Regions from separate parts of the Homo sapiens genome. Here regions 2, 3, 4, 5, 6 and 7 are each linked to region 1. Evidence: promoter capture Hi-C in 16 types of primary human blood cells and fetal thymus (Javierre and others, 2016). All regions are on one chromosome and are shown on one strand. Each heading gives the region's core, a stretch centred on a gene start or on the middle of the fragment in contact. The rest is flanking DNA. Distances are from core to core; before and after follow the strand shown.

The links. Contacts are between HindIII fragments. The CHiCAGO score rates a contact against its expected background, and 5 or more counts as called.
Region 2: a fragment that was not itself captured here is called in contact with the fragment with the promoter of TCF7L2 in region 1 in 2 of 17 cell types (M1 macrophages and M2 macrophages); the score reaches 8.2 in M1 macrophages.
Region 3: a contact is called between a fragment that was not itself captured here and the fragment with the promoter of TCF7L2 in region 1, in 1 of 17 cell types (fetal thymus). The highest score is 5.1, in fetal thymus.
Region 4: a fragment that was not itself captured here is called in contact with the fragment with the promoter of TCF7L2 in region 1 in 5 of 17 cell types (endothelial precursors, M1 macrophages, fetal thymus and 2 more); the score reaches 11.7 in endothelial precursors.
Region 5: a contact is called between a fragment that was not itself captured here and the fragment with the promoter of TCF7L2 in region 1, in 5 of 17 cell types (M1 macrophages, M2 macrophages, M0 macrophages and 2 more). The highest score is 13.7, in M1 macrophages.
Region 6: a fragment that was not itself captured here is called in contact with the fragment with the promoter of TCF7L2 in region 1 in 1 of 17 cell types (endothelial precursors); the score reaches 6.5 in endothelial precursors.
Region 7: a fragment that was not itself captured here is called in contact with the fragment with the promoter of TCF7L2 in region 1 in 5 of 17 cell types (fetal thymus, M2 macrophages, M0 macrophages and 2 more); the score reaches 7.8 in fetal thymus.

The regions. Positions count from the first base shown.
Region 1 is chr10:112,948,936-112,951,530 of GRCh38, forward strand. TCF7L2 (transcription factor 7 like 2) reads left to right here and starts at 1,312. Exons shown (of 15, transcript NM_001367943.1): 1 at 1,312-2,010; 2 at 2,272-2,338; 3 at 2,548-2,595. The coding sequence starts at 1,822. It overlaps LOC124902502 (a long non-coding RNA gene), which reads right to left. Exons shown (of 2, transcript XR_007062291.1): 2 at 1,694-2,072. The HindIII fragment of the contact is 8,187 bases long and covers 1-2,595 here.
Region 2 is chr10:113,444,455-113,447,049 of GRCh38, forward strand. No RefSeq gene overlaps it. Among named protein-coding and RNA genes, the nearest start is that of HABP2, 110 kb to the right of the region's middle. The HindIII fragment of the contact is 1,863 bases long and covers 348-2,210 here.
Region 3 is chr10:112,458,144-112,460,738 of GRCh38, forward strand. It overlaps VTI1A (vesicle transport through interaction with t-SNAREs 1A), which reads left to right. Exons shown (of 8, transcript NM_145206.4): 2 at 2,381-2,439. Among named protein-coding and RNA genes, the nearest start is that of VTI1A, 12 kb to the left of the region's middle. The HindIII fragment of the contact is 559 bases long and covers 1,039-1,597 here.
Region 4 is chr10:112,476,198-112,478,792 of GRCh38, forward strand. All of the region lies in intron 3 of VTI1A (vesicle transport through interaction with t-SNAREs 1A), which reads left to right. Among named protein-coding and RNA genes, the nearest start is that of VTI1A, 30 kb to the left of the region's middle. The HindIII fragment of the contact is 917 bases long and covers 833-1,749 here.
Region 5 is chr10:113,391,938-113,394,532 of GRCh38, forward strand. No RefSeq gene overlaps it. Among named protein-coding and RNA genes, the nearest start is that of HABP2, 160 kb to the right of the region's middle. The HindIII fragment of the contact is 2,010 bases long and covers 270-2,279 here.
Region 6 is chr10:112,509,178-112,511,772 of GRCh38, forward strand. The region is part of intron 3 of VTI1A (vesicle transport through interaction with t-SNAREs 1A); the gene reads left to right. Among named protein-coding and RNA genes, the nearest start is that of VTI1A, 63 kb to the left of the region's middle. The HindIII fragment of the contact is 1,231 bases long and covers 680-1,910 here.
Region 7 is chr10:113,371,916-113,374,510 of GRCh38, forward strand. No RefSeq gene overlaps it. Among named protein-coding and RNA genes, the nearest start is that of HABP2, 180 kb to the right of the region's middle. The HindIII fragment of the contact is 6,058 bases long and covers 1-2,595 here.

The DNA.
Region 1 (2,595 bases), core at 62-2,561:
TGTCCAGTCTACTTCTTACTGGGTATTTGCAAAAATGAATTTTCTTGCTCTATCACCCAGGAACATTGTGTTTTGGGAGCTGGGTCTTTCCTCTTTAACATAATTCCATTCCCCATTTTGTAGCAAATCAGTCTGCTCCTCCTCTAATACCTAAAAGTCAACAAATACCTGCCTCAAGCCCCAGGTTTCCCATCTTCTCCCGAAGGTCTTCTAGCATCGGTTTGGTTAGCAATTTCCTGCCAGAGCCACCTACATCTTGATTATTTTGGTCAGTCTTTCGGGGATTTCATTTCAGACCCCCTTCGAGAAACACTGTAGCCCAACTGATCCCAGGGGTTGGTGAACTTTCAGTTTTATTTTCCCTGACGGTGTTAACGCCCAAACTTTTCACCTCCTAAGTCAAAAAGGACTTTGACTCTAGCTCATTTCCTACTACCTCCAACGTCAGTTAAAAAAAAAAAAAAAAAAGCAAAACACCACTCTACATTTAAAAGAATCATATATTTTTCCTTAAGGATACTTTTAATGTTTCTGACATTTAGCATTTGTTTTTTGCATAAAAAGTCGTTTTGGCATATCCATCCTAGTGGGACTTAACATTTCATGAAATGATTCACTACTAATAAACAAAAAAGGGAGGAGGGAGGCCTCATGGGTTAATAGTTTCTTTCATTGTAGATGACCAGGAACTTTGACCAGCCCCTTCACTTCCCCAAGCTCTCTGAAAGTGGAGGGTTGATCTTTCCTTTTGACCACTTTTGTCGCATCCCGTCTAAGGGTGGCTGATTTCACTGCTGAATTAACCACCAAGCACCCCCCCACCCCCTCCCCCAGCCACCACTTTCTCAAATACTACCCTTCCTTTTCCCCCTCCCTTAAGACTTATTTCTAATATTTCTAAAGTGCACTGTTTTGGGCCTCTCCCCATCCCCGCCCCCCAAGTGGGCTTTCCTTCCGCCTTCCTCGGCTCGGATTCCTGACTTGGTCGCCACCCCCTTCTCCTCCTCTCCCACCCCGCATTGTCTTTCTGAAACCGCCCCCTCCCGGAGCAAGTCCCTGCACCCTCGCCCAGAATCCCGGGCTCGCACACACTCCGCGCAGGCCGCTCCCCCTGCACACTCCTCCCTCCGTCTCCCCCCGGCTTCCCCGCCCCTCTCTTCCTCCTTCTTTCCCTCCTCCCTCTCCCGGCGCCCGAAAGGATCATTGTTAGCCGCCCCCGCCCCGCCCACCCCGGCTGTTTATTTATGCACACGTCACTGGGCCGGCCCCGCCCTCCGGCATCTCATTAAGGCAGTGTGTTCCTCTCGCCCTGTCAATAATCTCCGCTCCCAGACTACTCCGTTCCTCCGGATTTCGATCCCCCTTTTTCTATCTGTCAATCAGCGCCGCCTTTGAACTGAAAAGCTCTCAGTCTAACTTCAACTCACTCAAATCCGAGCGGCACGAGCACCTCCTGTATCTTCGGCTTCCCCCCCCCTTTGCTCTTTATATCTGACTTCTTGTTGTTGTTGGTGTTTTTTTTTTTTTTACCCCCCTTTTTTATTTATTATTTTTTTGCACATTGATCGGATCCTTGGGAACGAGAGAAAAAAGAAACCCAAACTCACGCGTGCAGAAGATCTCCCCCCCCTTCCCCTCCCCTCCTCCCTCTTTTCCCCTCCCCAGGAGAAAAAGACCCCCAAGCAGAAAAAAGTTCACCTTGGACTCGTCTTTTTCTTGCAATATTTTTTGGGGGGGCAAAACTTTTTGGGGGTGATTTTTTTTGGCTTTTCTTCCTCCTTCATTTTTCTTCCAAAATTGCTGCTGGTGGGTGAAAAAAAAATGCCGCAGCTGAACGGCGGTGGAGGGGATGACCTAGGCGCCAACGACGAACTGATTTCCTTCAAAGACGAGGGCGAACAGGAGGAGAAGAGCTCCGAAAACTCCTCGGCAGAGAGGGATTTAGCTGATGTCAAATCGTCTCTAGTCAATGAATCAGAAACGAATCAAAACAGCTCCTCCGATTCCGAGGTAGGAAAAGCCCCTCGGGCTGGTGGGGTTTTTTATCTGTTTCCTGGGCTTGGCAAATGTTGCTGAAAGGGGAGAAATCGGGGCTGGGGGCGGCGGCGGGGCCCGGCGGGCGGCGTGTGCGTACGGTGCCACCATTGCAAAAACTTGTAACCCTGTTTTTTTCTACCCCCCCCTCGACCTCGCCGATTCTTTTTCTCCCCCTTCTCCCCCTTCTGCGTGGCGTTTGCCCCTCGCCCTCCCCACCTCCACCCCTCTGGGAAGGCGGAAAGACGGCCTCCGCCTCGCTCCGAAAGTTTCCGAGACAAATCCCGGGAAAGTTTGGAAGAAGGTGAGTACGCCCCGCGCGCCCCGCAGCCGCCCGGAGCCGCCCCCCGGGCCGGCCGCCCCGCGCGCCCCGGCCCCGCGCCCGGCTCGGCCTGGCCCTGCGCCGGCCCGGTCGGGGCGCCCGGCCCCTCGGGGCACTTTCTAAAAAGTTTCTCCTCACTCTCTCCCGCTCCGCGCGGCCGCCGCTGTCCCCTCGCCGCCCCGCCATGTTAGCGGCCAAGAGGCAAGATGGAGGGCTCTTTAAGGGGCCACCGTATCCCG
Region 2 (2,595 bases), core at 29-2,528, 500 kb after region 1:
CAAATACCCATTTTCATTGACCAGAACTATGTCATGTGGCTATCCCAACTACAAAGGATGCTAGAAATTGGGTTATTCTTGGATGAATACATTGTGGTCATGAACAAAACTGGGATTCTCTTGGTAAGGAAGAAGGGAAGGACAGCTATAGGCCAACTAGCAACGTGTGCCGCATCCATGGATTGAGTTCCTACTGGGGAAACATATTTCCTTGTAAGAACCCTGCGGGGAAGCGGTGATGATATTCATGTCTGCCAGATGAGACAAGGGGTGCCTAGTGAGGTTAAATCATTTGCCTAAGGTCACACTGCTGGTTAATAGTTGGAGTTCAGACAGACCAGACCTGAAGCTTGGGTTTTTCTCTGCCTACACCACGGTGCACTAGTCATGGGTTCTCAAATACTCAATCTGTAGCCACATAGTGGGAGTCCTGATGACCAAGATTTTGTCCAGCTGAAAAACAGGATGGGAAACTCAGAAGACACTCTTGCCCTTCCAGTGTGCCTCTGTTGCTTGCCTGGTTCCAAGCCACATGTTAATAACACCCATATGGGTTTCATTTCCTCCAGAGCTTGCCCAAGTAAGCCTCCAAAGCAACCTGGCTTGCCATCCTCTGCCTCCTCCTGCCAGCCCCTAACCCCTGCTCACAGGTGGAGTTGACCCATTCAAACTGGAGACACCCTGGGCTGTGCAATTAGGCTGGAGAAGACAGACCCCATTTCAAAAGGTGACTCCCTACCATTTTGAAATAGGACTTCATTAATTGCATTCCCCTATTGATTCATTACCATGAAACAGCCTGGAGTGCTTGCCTGTAGCCTAACCTTTCTCAACAGAGGGAGCCAGACGTTCTTTGCAGGTAATCTACAGGGCCCAACAGCAAATATCTGGAATCGGGACTATTCATGCATGAACAATATAGCAGCTCCTTATTGTTACACGCATTGTTCTCTGACAAAGAGCAACGGGCAGGTTAAATCTATTTTAGCTGAGAAGGCTCTACAGAAATCCTTGCTACCGAGCATTTGATACTGATCACAGAGTCACATCAGGGAACAGCAGCTGAAAGGAGAAAGTCATTTTTATTTCTGAACTTTAGAGGAGACAACCTCTCCTCCGCGCTGGCTCCCCAGGACCTAGGCCTCTAGGTGGGAGTGAGGATTTTGTTTTGTTTTGTTTTTTAATGCCACTCAATGAGAATGAGTTTCTTAAGGGAATCGGGGGCTGGACGGTTAGGGGGAAAAAGGTATTACACAATGTCGCATTCAGGCAACATATGTGAACTCTGGATTCATTCAATTTTAAAAACGTGTTCTCAGGGGAATCAAGTCTGTGAGCTGTGAATTATAACGAAGGGCGTGGCAGCCTCAGGGTTGGTGGTGCCTAAATGGTACCATTTGGAACAGCAGAAAAACAGGAACTTGATTCTGCCTTGGATTTGCCTCTGCTCAGCCGGGCAGTGGAAATGCCACTTGCTCAATTCACCCTCCTTCTCCAAAGGGTGAGCCCATTGAGACTGAGACTTCTGTAAGGCCCAACATGCATGAGGGCTGGGAAGAGATGGGCAGGGTGAGATATGGATGGAAGAAAAATTATTTAATCCAATCCTTATATTACAGCAGCAGAGACAGGACCAGGGCGAGGGTGTGCCTTGCCCTTCTAGTGAGTGCTGAGATTAGAAGCCAACCCACAACTATTCATCCTCCATGGTAATTTTCAGTAAGAAGCATGGTGTTGAACTGGGCCAGGAGGATGGCAACAATTTAGCTCGGGGGCTGGTGGGAAGGACAGTATATCCAAATCATTTAACAACCAGTCCAGGGTGGGCACCACTAGATCGGGCAAAGGCATCAAGCAAGCATAATGGACACTAACCACAAATGCCATTTGTGCCCCCAAGTGGGTCCTGATGCTGACTCTCAGGCCTCTCTAGACCTCAGTGAAACCATCATGGAACAGCCCTGGGATAGAGCCATGTGAAGGAAGGAGCAGCTGACAGTCACCCAGTCACTGACTGATGTGTCAGGAAAGTAGGTGATTCCATTAGTTGGTTGAAATTGTTTATTCTACAAATATCTAGAAAGGTGCATGAAATAAACAAAGACCAACCAAGTGAGGGAAGCAAAGCCTATTTATTCAGAGCTTGCTATAGCAAGGGAGTCAGCCACCACCCTTTGCAAAGACTCAAGGGCAGGCCAGGGGAGTGGGAAAGCTTTATAGAGAGAAAAGGGAAGCCTCAGGTGTGTGCAGATTTGAGGCTGTTGGTTTTGGGGAGCTGTGTGTGGGATAACTAGAAAGGGGGCATCCTATCTGATTGGTTGGGGTGCATATTTGGCTTTCTCTGGTTGGTCCTTAAGTTGGAAGTGGAGACAAAAATTAGGGAAGTGTCAGTTATTAATCAAGTCCCATCTATTTGAGGCAGATTGTTACAGGGGTTGCTGTTTAGCTTCCTGGATTGTCACTAGAGAGAGCAAACTGGCTTCCCATAAATCCGACTTACAGCAGACTGGCTTCCTGGGTTGTTTGTTGTAGATAGGAGGTTGCTGCAGGTTGTGGGTCAAAGTTCTATTTTTATACATGGTCTGAACATTTTCT
Region 3 (2,595 bases), core at 68-2,567, 490 kb before region 1:
TCTTTGTTTTATTTTGCTAATGAGAAAAACTGATGCTTATTAGTCCTGGAGGTCCACGGCATGGACTTTCCTATCAACTGAATACCTTAAAGAGAACAGGATGTTCCTCCTGATACGTAAATACACCATCTCAGTTTTGATCCAAGATAAGCCTGTCTTATTTTGTATTTTTCTCTATCACAAAAATGTAGTCTATTCTAACTGTAACTGTGTGAAGATACTAAAAGGGTTGAAATGTCCCAGAAGCAAATACATTTGGGATCATCTATTAAATATTTAATCTGGCCATATGTAGATTTAACTTTTCAAGGAGGGAAAATCAAGTTGAATTGTAATCCCAAAGGCTTATTTTTCTTAGGGAGAAATATTGTGAGTACACATAAAACACCTTATGTGACAACTGTTCCCCCTCTGTAGTTTGGGGATAACAAAGGGAAAGGGTTAAGATTAGTAGAATCTACTAATAATCTAATCATTGTTTTAGTGAAATAATTATATATATATTTTTATTTTTATTTTTATTTTTATTTTTATTTTTTTTGAGACAGAGTCCCGCACTGTTGCCCAGGCTGGAACGCAATGGTGCGATCTCGGCTCACTGCAACCTCTACCTCCCGGGTTCAAGCAATTCTCCTGCCTCAGCCTCCCAAGTAGTTGGGATTACAGGCGCCCACCACCACACCCAGCTAATTTTTTGTATTTTTAGTAGAGACGGGGTTTCACTATGTTTGCCAGGGTGGTCTCAAACTTCTGACCCTGTGATCCACCCATCTAGGCCTCCCAAAGTGCTGAGGTTACAGGCGTGAGCCACCGCGCCCGGCCAGTGAAATAATAATTTCTATTAAAGCTTCCCCACTTAGGATTGGCTGTCCTTCTGAAGGCTGGTCAGCTGGTAGGTGTTGTACCCATTTCAAGCTTCATGACTTTTCTAGTCTGTTGTGTTAGTCAGTCTCATTAGGCTCCCATGTGACATAAACCCAGTTTTAAATAAAGAACAAGAAAGTTGTTGGCTCAAGAAACCAAACTATGGTAAAGTCAAGCTTTTATAAAGTCAAGCCATTTCAGTTATTTCAAGCCAGGAACTAACTATATCTCTCTCTCTCTGTCTCTCAGTTGTGTTTCTTTTTAAATGCAGGTTTTATTTTCAGCCATTGCACGCTTGCTTTCTTCTTGGAGCTAGACCAATGGATGCTAGCAGCGCTTCTAGGCTCATTTTTTCGTTACCAGGAGAAAGGAAAAGGCTTTCCCCTTGCTCTAGAACTTTGTTCTCTCTGGTTCATATATGCCTATCCCACCGCCCAACTCCCAGATGAATGTGGCCAGAGGATTGAGTTACTGAGATTAGTCCAGCTAGGATTAGATGCCGGTCATTTGCCAAGTCACTGTGACTGAAGAAGCAGAGTCTTTATGGAGATAGCATTTTCATTGTCCTGCTTGGTGAGGAAGAAGGCCTTTGAAGAGAGTAGGGGCTGTTGCCTGAGAAGAGAAGCATGCTAGGCAGACAAAAACTAGAGATGTTCAATACATCTGGTTTGCACAAAACTTAACTAGGGTATGTGAACAAATAGGCTGACTGGCTGGAATGAGGGTATGGGAAAGCTTTCTGAAATTGTCTGCCAGGACATGTCTCTCCTAGAGAAGGGAATTACAGTTGGGTTATAACTTGATTGTATTAGAAAAATAAACCACATACAGAGACTTAGCACTTTATAATATTAAAGTAATTTCACTTGCATCAAGCTTATTGGAGCTAAAAGTAATCCCGTAGATATTTTTTATTTCCATTTTAGAGAGTACAGAGTGAGTCTCAGAAAAAAAGAGAAAAATTTCTTGCCCAGGATCCCATAACCATTGAGTGAGATAGTAGCTTTCGGTTTGGAATCAGTAGTCCTAACTTCAAATATTTATTCCATTACACCTGATTCTCCATGCTACTGAAAGTACAATTTTTTAAAGGATTGTTTTTGCCCAGTTTTAGGAAGTGTTTTTGTATATAACTTTTAAATTGTATTAACAAATCAGTTATTCCCAATTTATTAAAGTTATGACTTCACAGATTCCTTAGGCCAGCACAAATCTGCTCTTGTTGACTTAGTCTCTCCTAAAGGGCAACATAATTTTTAGTCTCTCTTAAAAATAGGTCTCTCTTAAAAATGGTGTCTCTTAATAATTAGGTATTCTATCAGATTATATGTTTCTAGATAGCCTGGAATCAATGGCTTAAAGTGGTTTCAAACCCACCAAAGAATGATATGCTCTTTTGCCTTATGTTCTGTAATCTGATTGACCAGAAAGGAAAAAGGCATATAAAAATTGAAGTTTTAAAATATTAAATTTATTTGTATCTTTAGCAATTTCTTGGTATTATTGTTTGTTTCAGATGAAAAGAAACAGATGGTTGCAAATGTGGAGAAACAGCTTGAAGAAGCGAAAGAACTGGTATGTACAGACAGTAATGTATTTTAACACACAGCCAGAGCCGTTTAAGCTAATGTCTTCCTCTAGCCTGTTTTATACATTGTGGAAATGTGAAGCATTGCTGATTAGCATTTTATAATTCAGAATTTGTCAATTTTTAAATTGAAGAGATTTTAG
Region 4 (2,595 bases), core at 41-2,540, 470 kb before region 1:
GCTCATAAATAGTAAACTTTTTAGTGGTTGCTTACAGACTGTCCCATGGTCAACAGTAGTCCAATATTCTGCAAATATATGGCCAGAAACTGTGTTATCAAGACTAGTGGAATCTCCGTTTAATTTCCCTGGGAAAAGTACTGCATAGTTTAAAAGACAAACCTTTTCCTTGGCTTTCCCTTTGAGTCACTCTCATTTTTCATGTATGGTATACTATTACTTGGAAAGAAAAGTAGCTAATTGATTTTTAAATGAAATGCCTTTTATGAACGTACTTGCTAGTCACTCTCCTGGTAGAATATCAAACATTAAAGAAGAAACAGTGATGCTGTGGTAGTGATGTTGCTGAAGGGAACAGAGGCCTTAAGGTGATGGCTCAGTATGGTAGTGATGTCCACATGTTCATTGTCCTCTTAAGGCTTACTTACGTTCTAGAATTCTTGAAACTCACAATTTAATACCACAAACTGAACTAGAAGATTTCATACTTTGGCCCTAGGGTTACAAAAGTATTTGAATAAAGTGTGTCAATTTTGTGCTTTGCCAAACTGAAGTAAGGTAGCAATTTGAAATGACACATCATGATTCCAGTGTCTCATTTCTTTTTTCATAAGTCTTCAGTTGCTTTCATACCATTCTTATTGGCTTTACCCAGTTCCACATTTGTGAGATGTGGAACAAAATTTAAAATGGGTTAGGCACTTTTGACTTAGCATATAGCTTTTAGGTGAGTTTAGCTGGTGGTGGTAAAGACTGAGCCAGATCTGATCTCTAGGGTGAAGATTTTTAAACTGTGTAATAGTGGTTGAGTTTTGCTATGTCAACTATTTTAAGCTTTCTTATACAAGAAGTTAAATTGGGACTAGAATAGATTTTGCCAGAGACTTTTCTGATGATTTCAAGTCCTCATAAACCTAGCAGAGAATGGACCATGTGTACAAATAGTCTCATTTTTTGCTTATATTGTTTTGTTTGACTTTGTGTCCTTTAGTTCCCAAAACTGGATGAACTATGTTTTAGGAGTAAAAACAAATAACAACTGTGCAGTCAAATTGTGCTTTTGGCTTTTCTTTTAAGAAGTTCATCAGATCATGGATTAAAAAGCCTTTGCTAGAAATGCCTCTGAAATGCTTAAGTGCGATCATATTGGGAAACCTCTAGAAACGTGACTCCATCCTCAGTGCATTTTATTAGTTCTTGAGGCTCCTCATCTTTGCAAATACACCAAAGCTATTACAGGTCAAGCTCCATCAAAGAAGATTCTAAGGAAATGTCCAAATTTTCTCATTCTCCATTTGGTTCTGTTAAGTATTATTTAAACAAGTTACCACTGTCTTGGACTTGGAAATGTACTGTGAAATGAAGACTTCTTTTATTAGTCATGAAGAATTTGACCTGCAATTGCATTATTAAAATGGAGAAAGAGTGTTAGATTTTATGCTTTGGAAAGTCACATTGCATGGCATTGGCCTTGGTGTGAAATGTCTGATTATAGAAATCAAATGAGTTCCTTAAAACTGTATTTTGTACTTTAAAACAAGGATGCCCTTTGTTAATCTCTTCTGAATTTTTTATCTGATACCTTTTGATTTTCATAATGGAGTATTGCATCTTTGCATATTGAATGACTGACTTTTTTGTTTCATTGTTTTCTTATTTTGACCTTTTTCTACAAACCTAGTCTACAAAAAATTCATCTGAAGTAAGGCTAGAGTTGTCTTACTTATGGAAATGTAATTTTTAAAGTAAAGCTTAGGAGAAAATTACTATCCTCATAGCTAGCATCTTGCAGATTTATATTCATTTTAGTTTCAGTGAAGTTTAAAATTTTTTACTTTTTTGAATGAATGTGGTTCAGTGCTAACCATTTCATCTTTGTATGATCCTGGGCTCCTAGTTGAATGTTCTATTTATACTTCAAAAATATTATGTATATATTATTAGATTGCTAGAAGTAGTGAATCCTATACTTTTCTAATATTGTGTGCAAGCGAAATTTGACCATACTACCAAAAGAGAAAGTGAAATAGTCAGAAAAGCCCAGGCAGTGTAGATTGGAGGCCTTGGACATGTGGCATATTCATTCTGTGCTTCAGTTTCCTTATCTGCAAATCTGGATTCTAATACCAACTCTGCCCACCTAATGGGAAAATGCGAGGGTCAAATAGATAATGTTAAAACACTTGGAGAACTGCACTGCTTTTTAGTCAGTGACTTTCCTGTGAACAAGTGGTAATGCTATAATTAAAGAGGTTAGAGGCTAACGTATCTCAAGGTCAGAAAATTTCTTAAATATCCTGAAAATGTAAACCCTCTTCTGCGTTGCTTCAGAGCGCTAACTGTGGGAGCGTACACAAAGGATTAAAATATGAAATCTTCCATCTCATTCTTGAATATGACCTTCTGAATTGGATAGCTTTTGTATTCTAGCACATTTTGTTTTGTAGAAAACATCTTAGAAATTAATCACTCTATGATAGTAGAGTCAGAATTAAAGGAAGAAGAAATATGATATTACATATTATTTTATATCATTTTATTATTGTATTATATTACTATTTAGAGTTATATTTGCACTGAGTTTTTATCTAGAGT
Region 5 (2,595 bases), core at 25-2,524, 440 kb after region 1:
TAAACTTTTAGGATAAGTATCTCCCATGCAATATTTGGGCTATATGCATCCTTAAAAAGTATTTATTGTTCATCTGAAACACAAATTTAATTTGGTGTCTTTTTTTTTTTTTTTCTAAATCCCTGTGGAACTCAAAACAAATATATCTGAACCAATCAAAAAACTGTAATGTGGGTCTGGTATCCAAGTGCATCTCAGAGACATGGTTAATATGGTTATAATAATAATAATAATGACAGTTAAGCACTGGAACGTTGGGATTTCTGTGAAGCTTCTATGGTTTATGTGGGATCGATGACAGACATTCGAATTAGAATTGGCACAGAAAATCTGGGACAGATGGTTACTGTATAGATAGGAGGTGACTTTTGACTTGATTAGAGTGATTCTCAATCCTGGCTACATACCAGAATCACCTAGGGAGTTTTAAAAAGTACTGATGCCTGGGCCCCATGACATGCTGATAGTAAAATATTCTCACATTCCAAGGCTTCCCAAATGGTGTAGGTGAAACAGTGGTACAGGAGTTCAGAAGAGGGGATGCTGTACAACTGGAATGGTCCCATTGGCTTCCATGGAAGAATAGGGGACCCAATAGGCTGAAGGATGGAGAAAGTTTTTATAGGCAGAGAGGAGCAAGGAGACTATGCCAGGTGAAGGAATGGCTTGGAGAAGAGGGTTTGAAAGAAAAAAGTGTGAGCCAGGTACAGAGGACAGACCAGTCAAATTAAAGTGGCACATCTAACTAGGAGCAAATTTGTTTAAATTAAACTTATTGTTTCTGTGTAAAAAATAATAGGCCAGGCACGGTGGCTCATGCCCGTAATTCTAGCACTTTGGGAGGTCAAGACAGGTGGATCACCTGAGGTCATGAGTTACAGACTAGCCTGGCCAGCAGGGTAAAGCCCTGTCTCTATTGAAAATACAAAAATTAGCTGGGCGTGGTGGTGGGTGCCTGTAATCCCAGCTATTCGGGAGGCTGAGGCAGGAGAATCACTTGAACCTGGGAGGTAGAGGTTGCAGTGAGCCGAGATCATGCCATTGCACTCCAGCTTGGGCAATAAGAGTGAAGCTCTGTCTCAAAAAAAAAAAAAAAAGAAATTAATAATACATTAATAATACATGAAGTTGTGGCATTTTATAAAATGCAATAAAACAAGATAGAGAAAATACCATTGCCTGTCAATCCATCGTTGAATGGAAATCACTTATGAATTCGGGCTACTTTTCTATGTCCTTTTGGACATTGATGAGAACACACCATACCACAATCGTGTACCCTACATTTTTAAACACTCGATCACAGGCATTTCTCCCTGCCATTAGAAATTCTTCATGAATGTTTATGCTGGCCTCACTGGTCACCATGTTATCCATGTAGCGTAAGTCTCTCAACCTTTCTCTCACAGTTAGACATTCTAGTTGTGTGCAGTTTTTTACATATTTGGATGTTGATTTGAGATTTACAAGAAGTGAGTGGGAGAGACTGAATATAGGACTTTCCCTAGTAGCCCATGGTCTAAAAGAATTTGGAGGGACTTGCTTCAGACCGTGCCTTCTTAAGTCCCAGAGAAGAACTTTGAAGTCTTTACCATCCAAACCAGGCTTCAGATTCCTCAAAGTCAAAATGGCGCCCATCTTGGGGTACTCTAAGCAATGTGTGATGCTTTCCCTCCCCAGCCCGAAATCACAATTCCTAACAAATAGAGGTGCTACTCACTCTCAGTACAGACCTCTGTCTGGCCAAGAAAGTACTGTTGTGACCTAGGATTTTTTTTAACACCCAATTAAATTTGTGTAATTGGATAGAACTGCAACTTCTTTGCCTCCAGCTGATTCATAATCTGTTTCACACCCGAGTGTTGTTTTTCTTGATTTTTAGTATTTTTCCCAGAGTAGTGGAGATGGGGTACAAGGAGAGAGCCCTTTCCTACTTTTTGATGTATCGATTATTTTTCTACCATTTTTAAGAAGGTACAGGTGGTTGGCCTATCATTAATTTTTCTTGGGCCAGGACTCTATTTGAACCCAAGTTTTCAGCACCCGACTATTTCTGGAGACTGCTATTTAAAATGTCTAGGCATATGGAAACAGTCCAATTAGGAAGAAACAGTTGGTCAAGCTGGAGACTCAGCTCACGTGCCAGCTATGAACAAAATGGAATTTTGTCTGAAACTCACTAGGTGCAATTCCCAAGGCTGTGGGAATGACAAGTAGATCATGCTACTGTGTTACATTCTGTGGGTTGGAAAATAAACTTAATTGAGGGGTACCAAAGAAGCTTGAAGTGCCCTCTTAATATTTAATGATTTTTATCAGAGCTCCATAGTTGAATACGAAGTAAATAGGGAGGGGTATTTTTGGCCTCCATCAGGTTGTATTATCTAGACCTCTTTTCTCCCTTGGGACAACACCCCTGTCTCGCTTGCTGAAGCTGTGCATATTCCTGACCTGAGCTGACAGTCATTCACTCTGTAGAAGACTCGTATGTTGATGAATGCTTCTCAAACTTGAACATGCGCTGGAATCACCTGGAAGGCATGTTAAACTCCAGATCGCAGAAGCCCACTTCTGATTCAGTAGGTTCTGGGGTGA
Region 6 (2,595 bases), core at 45-2,544, 440 kb before region 1:
TCCTAGTATGTGCTAAGCACTATAATTGCTGTTTTATTAACTTTATCTTAGCTAGACCTGAAGTCCATATGAGTTCTTAATCACCGCTTAAAAGACAAAGCTGGAATTTGAACCCAGGCTCATCAGTTGCCCAAATCCGAGGCCTTTCTACTTTATAATATTGTTTCTTCTAAAGGCAAGAAAATACCAGCCAAGAAAACAAATTTAAAGGAGTGGTAGAAAGTAGCCCCAAAACTCAATTAAAAATTAAGGTGCATTTACAATGTGAAATATAATTAGAGCAAAAATAAGAAAAAGAAAAAAGAATGACCTCTTCCAGTTTACATATCAGGCGTTAAGATTGAATGCCCTGTGGTTCATGTGAGACTCTGGAAGAGTTTACTAATGTTCATCTCTGGGTCTAACTGGGGCTACCATGCCCAAAGATAATTCAGAGAAAATTCTGGGGAGTGCCTGTCAGAGGAGTTGGAAAATTAGATGGATGAAGAAAAGTCCTGGGATCATTTTCCCTGGTTGGAGAGTTGTAGAGTTGTTAAGAGTCCTCACGTCTGTGAAGAGCTATTATGCCAAATATGGTCAGCAGCTGTTTATTGATCTCTACTGCATGTGCAACTGCAGAACATAGGTTTAAGTTTAATTTGGAAAAATCATTCCTGCCAGTAACCAGTGATGGTTGGTAAGCTTCTTTGTGAAAGGTAAGGGACCTCCTTCCTGAGGTCTTTTTAAGATACATTCAGTGTAAGATGCTGTGAGGGAGCAAGGCACCCTAAAGGACCTCTCAAGGTCCCTTCTAGCCCTAAGGTCCCATTATTATTGCATATTTATAGAACGCCAAAATCTTCTGTGTTCTTTGCAAGGACTAGAATTACATTCAATCCCTGTCCAGTGCTATCACAGTCAAAATTAGACAGATCAGCAATATCTTAGTTGCCAAATCGAGTTAAAGTTTACTGGGCACATGTCTACCTGAAAGTGTGTATTCTCTTCAAGAACATTTGACAATGACCTAAGAGCACGGTAAAAGATCTTTGGTTAGTGCTGAAGCATTCCAGTGAGATTTGCATTAAGTTCCTCTAGGCATTTTTGTATAAACATCAATCTGGCATTTATTCTTATCTGTTAAGCAATCTAATTTAGAATTGTTGTCCCAAAAACTTTTTATTTAGAATAAAGTGGACCTGGTGTGGTGGCTTATGGAAGTAATCCCAGCATTTCGGGAGGCTGAGATGGGGGATTGCTTGAGGCCAGGAGTTCAAAACCAGCCTGGGCAACATAGCAAGACCCCATCTCTAAAAAAATAATTAAAAAGTTAGCAGATTGTAGCAGCATGCACCTGTAGTACCAGCTACTCAGGAGGCTGAGGTGGAAGGATTGGTTGAGACTGGAAGGTTGTGGCTTCGGTGAGCTATGACTGTGCCACTGGTCTCCAGCATGGACGACAGTGAGGCTTTGACTCAAAAAAACCACCACCACCACCACCACCACAAAAACAATTATAGTTAAACGAAAGAGAAAAAGAATTCATACTTCATTGCCAAATAGTTTTAAATGCTATGGAATACTCTTTTATTTTGAACTGATAACTTTGAACTTCTCTGACCATGGATGATTTGGAATCCATACTAATTGGTGAAATAAAAAATAAAAGTATGTTGCTAATTTAAAACTGTAAAATAAAGTCTCATATTTTATTGCTAAAAAAGGAAAACACCATCATATGGGATAAAAGTTTAAATTGCCTGAATTTGAAAGGAATCATGGTCTTATGTTTTTGTTTAACATTAGCTATCATTTCTTCAAGGATTTATTTGATATTCACTAATCTCAGACATTAGTTACTTGTTGAAAATTAGCTTACCAGGGACCTTTGCCCCCTTTTTTGCTAATCTTTTCATTTTTAGATCATTTTAAGCTTTGTATTTGAAAATAATCTCAAACTTGCTGAAAAGTACAAAGTAGTACAAAGAAGAACATACACTCTCTACCGGGGTTTACCTTTTGTTAGCGTTTTGCTCCATTTGCTTATTTATTTATTTAATCTGTACAAATGTATGGGATACATGTGAGGTTTTTTTTTTTTTTTCTTTTTCAGAGTCTTGCTCTGTCACCAGGCTGGAGTGCAGTGGCATGATCTCGGCTCACTGCAACCTCCGCCTCCTGGGTTCAAGTGATTCCCCTGCCTCAGCCTCCCAAGTAGCTGGGACTACAGGCGTGTACCACCACGCCCAGCTGATTTTTTGTATTTTAGTAGAAACAGGGTTTCACCATGTTGGCCAAGGATGGTCTAGATCTCCAACCTCATGATCTGCCCACCTCGGCCTCCCAAAGTGCTGGGATTACAGGCATGAGCCACCGTGCCTGGCTCATGTGAGATTTTTTACATATTTGTATAATGCATAGTGTTCAATTCAGGTTATTTACGGTGCTACCACCCAAGTTAAGTATATTCACTCTACTCTGCTGTCAGATGTTGAATTTGTTCCATCTTACTGAATGTTTGCACCCTTTAACCTGCTTCTCTTCATCCTCCCTCCTCCTCCTCCTAATTCAACTTTCCCAGACCCTGTTACCTATATTTCCACCGTCTACCTCCAT
Region 7 (2,595 bases), core at 46-2,545, 420 kb after region 1:
CCCCCACCTTGCATCCCTTCCTCTGTCCTAATAGCATTTTCTTCCAGGAATTCTCACTCCTTCTGAAGAACCCTCTGCAGGCATTTTATCTTACTGCCCAGTAGAGCCAAGCAATGGTGGACCTAAGTTTGGCTAGCTGGGCCCTCGCCTCTGAATCCTGACTGAATGGCAGAATGAACAAATGGTTGGTGCTCCTTCTTTACAGTAGCAATGCCCAGATGAGAAGATCAAGGGGTTCCTGCCACAGAGACCTTATATCTGGTTCCTATCCATCCCTAGCTGGGTTCTGTGGCTTTCCTCTCCCCCACTGTGTACCTCAAATCCTTCCAGTAGATTCATTTTTTTTGTTGCTAAGTTCATCAGTGTTCGTTTCTGTTGCTTGCAACCAAAACGGCTACTAATGTGATGGGATGAAGAAGTTAGGGTATCTTCTCTGAGATTCTGAATCTCTGTGATTGCTGGTAATGCAAGGATAGGAAAATTCTTTCTTTCTTGAACAAGAAACAGAAATCCATTCTAACTGGCTCAAGGAAATGGGGGTGGGGTGGAGGGGGTGTAAAGATACAGAGTCTTCATGGGAATCTAGAAAAAGTTGAACTATTAGGTTTGAAGTAGGAAAGGAATGAAGGGCCTCCTCTCTCTCTCTCCACTCCTGCTTCCCATTCTTTTCTGTGCCATTACTGATGTTCTGTTCTATTATCTCTCTCTCTATTGGAGATTCTGTTTCATGCAAGCCCATGTAGAGGTGCTGTCAGTGCCTTGCACAAATGCCGTCAACACTCATCACTTCTGGGCACAATAGTTCATGGCTTAACTGCCAATACTTGTGACTCTTTGCTGAGGGCTTTCTTACAGGGCAGGCCAGTAGTGCTAGGGAACTAACACCCCTTCAAGCAGTTCTCGACCAACAACTGATAGCAGTTAAAGGATAAATACCCCAACTCCCTCACCCCTTGGCCAAGATAACTCTGAAGCACATGTTCTGCTTTGACTCTCAGAGTTCCCCAGCAAGGCTACCCCACAGTGAAAATGTGTTTCATTGGCTCCTACCCTGTCCTGTCCCACTTTCCCATTTCCTAATCAGTATTTTCTGGGACCACCTCCCAAATAGACTCAAGGTTCTACTTCCGTGGGAATACACTAAAATAGACCATTATGCCCCTAGCCTGGTATTGACATAACCATGCAACTCTAGCACCCATAGCTCACTAGCAGTTTCATTCTGTCTCACTTTGTTCATATCCCCAACAGAAAGATTGGCTAAGCACATCTCTTTAAGTCATGCTCAGAGGGGGCCATGGATGGTCACCCCAGGTCAAATGACCACACCGGTCCATCTTAACCAAGAGGAGAGGGTCATAAGGACAGCTGCTCAGGTATGGGTAGGTAGGCACCTTGAGACTCAACTGGGCTACTCACCTTTCAGGGAACAATCACACAGGTGGTTGCATGGGAAACTCAAAAGGAAAGACTGTTTATTGGACATCAAATTATTATTTTCAAACAATACTTTGATAGTTTAAGTACAGAAGACTAAGAAACACATGGATTAAATTGCCATTGAAATACACACTCGCGTTTGAAAACCAGCAGAATATGTGCTTGGTAAGGGATTTTTTTCTCCTTTTCTTTTTGCCAAGCCACCAGATTATTTGGATAATAACTCAGGAATTTTTCACAGCTCTGGAGGTTTTACTCCTACACCCTCCATCCCTTTGCTTCAGTTTTCCCTCACACAGAGTTAATTAATAAAAGCAACATTTATCAAGGACATCAAGTCATTCTGTATGTGTGTCATAGGGTGTTGCGGGTGGCTGTGATAATCTGCAAGACGGATCCATTTCAGGGAGATCTGAAAGACTCTAACACTCATTGCACACCTACTGTGTGTTGGGCACATTGTGCTGAGCATTTAATATGATCATTTAAGCCCTGGGAGGCCCCTACCAGGTGGGCGCTGTCACTGTTCTTCATTTACAGATTAGAAATTGATATTTAGGGTTAGAGGTATATTTCCCAGGTATGGACAGCTAGTAAGTGGCAGAACTTACATTTGAACTCTCTCCTTCTGTCTTCAGAAACCACTGAGTGAGGGCAGGGCATGGTGGCTCATCCCTGTAATCCCAGCACTTGGGGAAGCTGAGGTGGGACAATTGCTTGAGGCCAGGAGTTCAAGACCAACCTGGCCAACATAGTGAGATCTCATCTCTCTCTAAAAAAGAAATCAGTGGGTGATCCTACCCTCTCTGTGTGTAGAGATTCATGCAACCTCCCCATTGGAAAGGGATTCTAGTACCACCCCTTCATTTTACAAAGGAGAACACTGAGGCCCAGAGAGTTCAAGCTAGATTATTTTACTTGGGAGCCTGGTTTAGACAGACAAGTTGTTAGTCAGGAGGATTCATCTGGTTGCTTCTCCAGGTGTTAAATGTTTGACAGATGCAAAGGAGAATCCACCGGTTATAGCTGTAACATCCAGCACTCAGGCCTAACCCTGCACACTCAGATGGAATTATTTCTGTAGGACTTGTGATCATAAGGACAAGATTTGTTTATCACCACACTGGTGAGAATATTGGGGGTTCCAGATGTGGC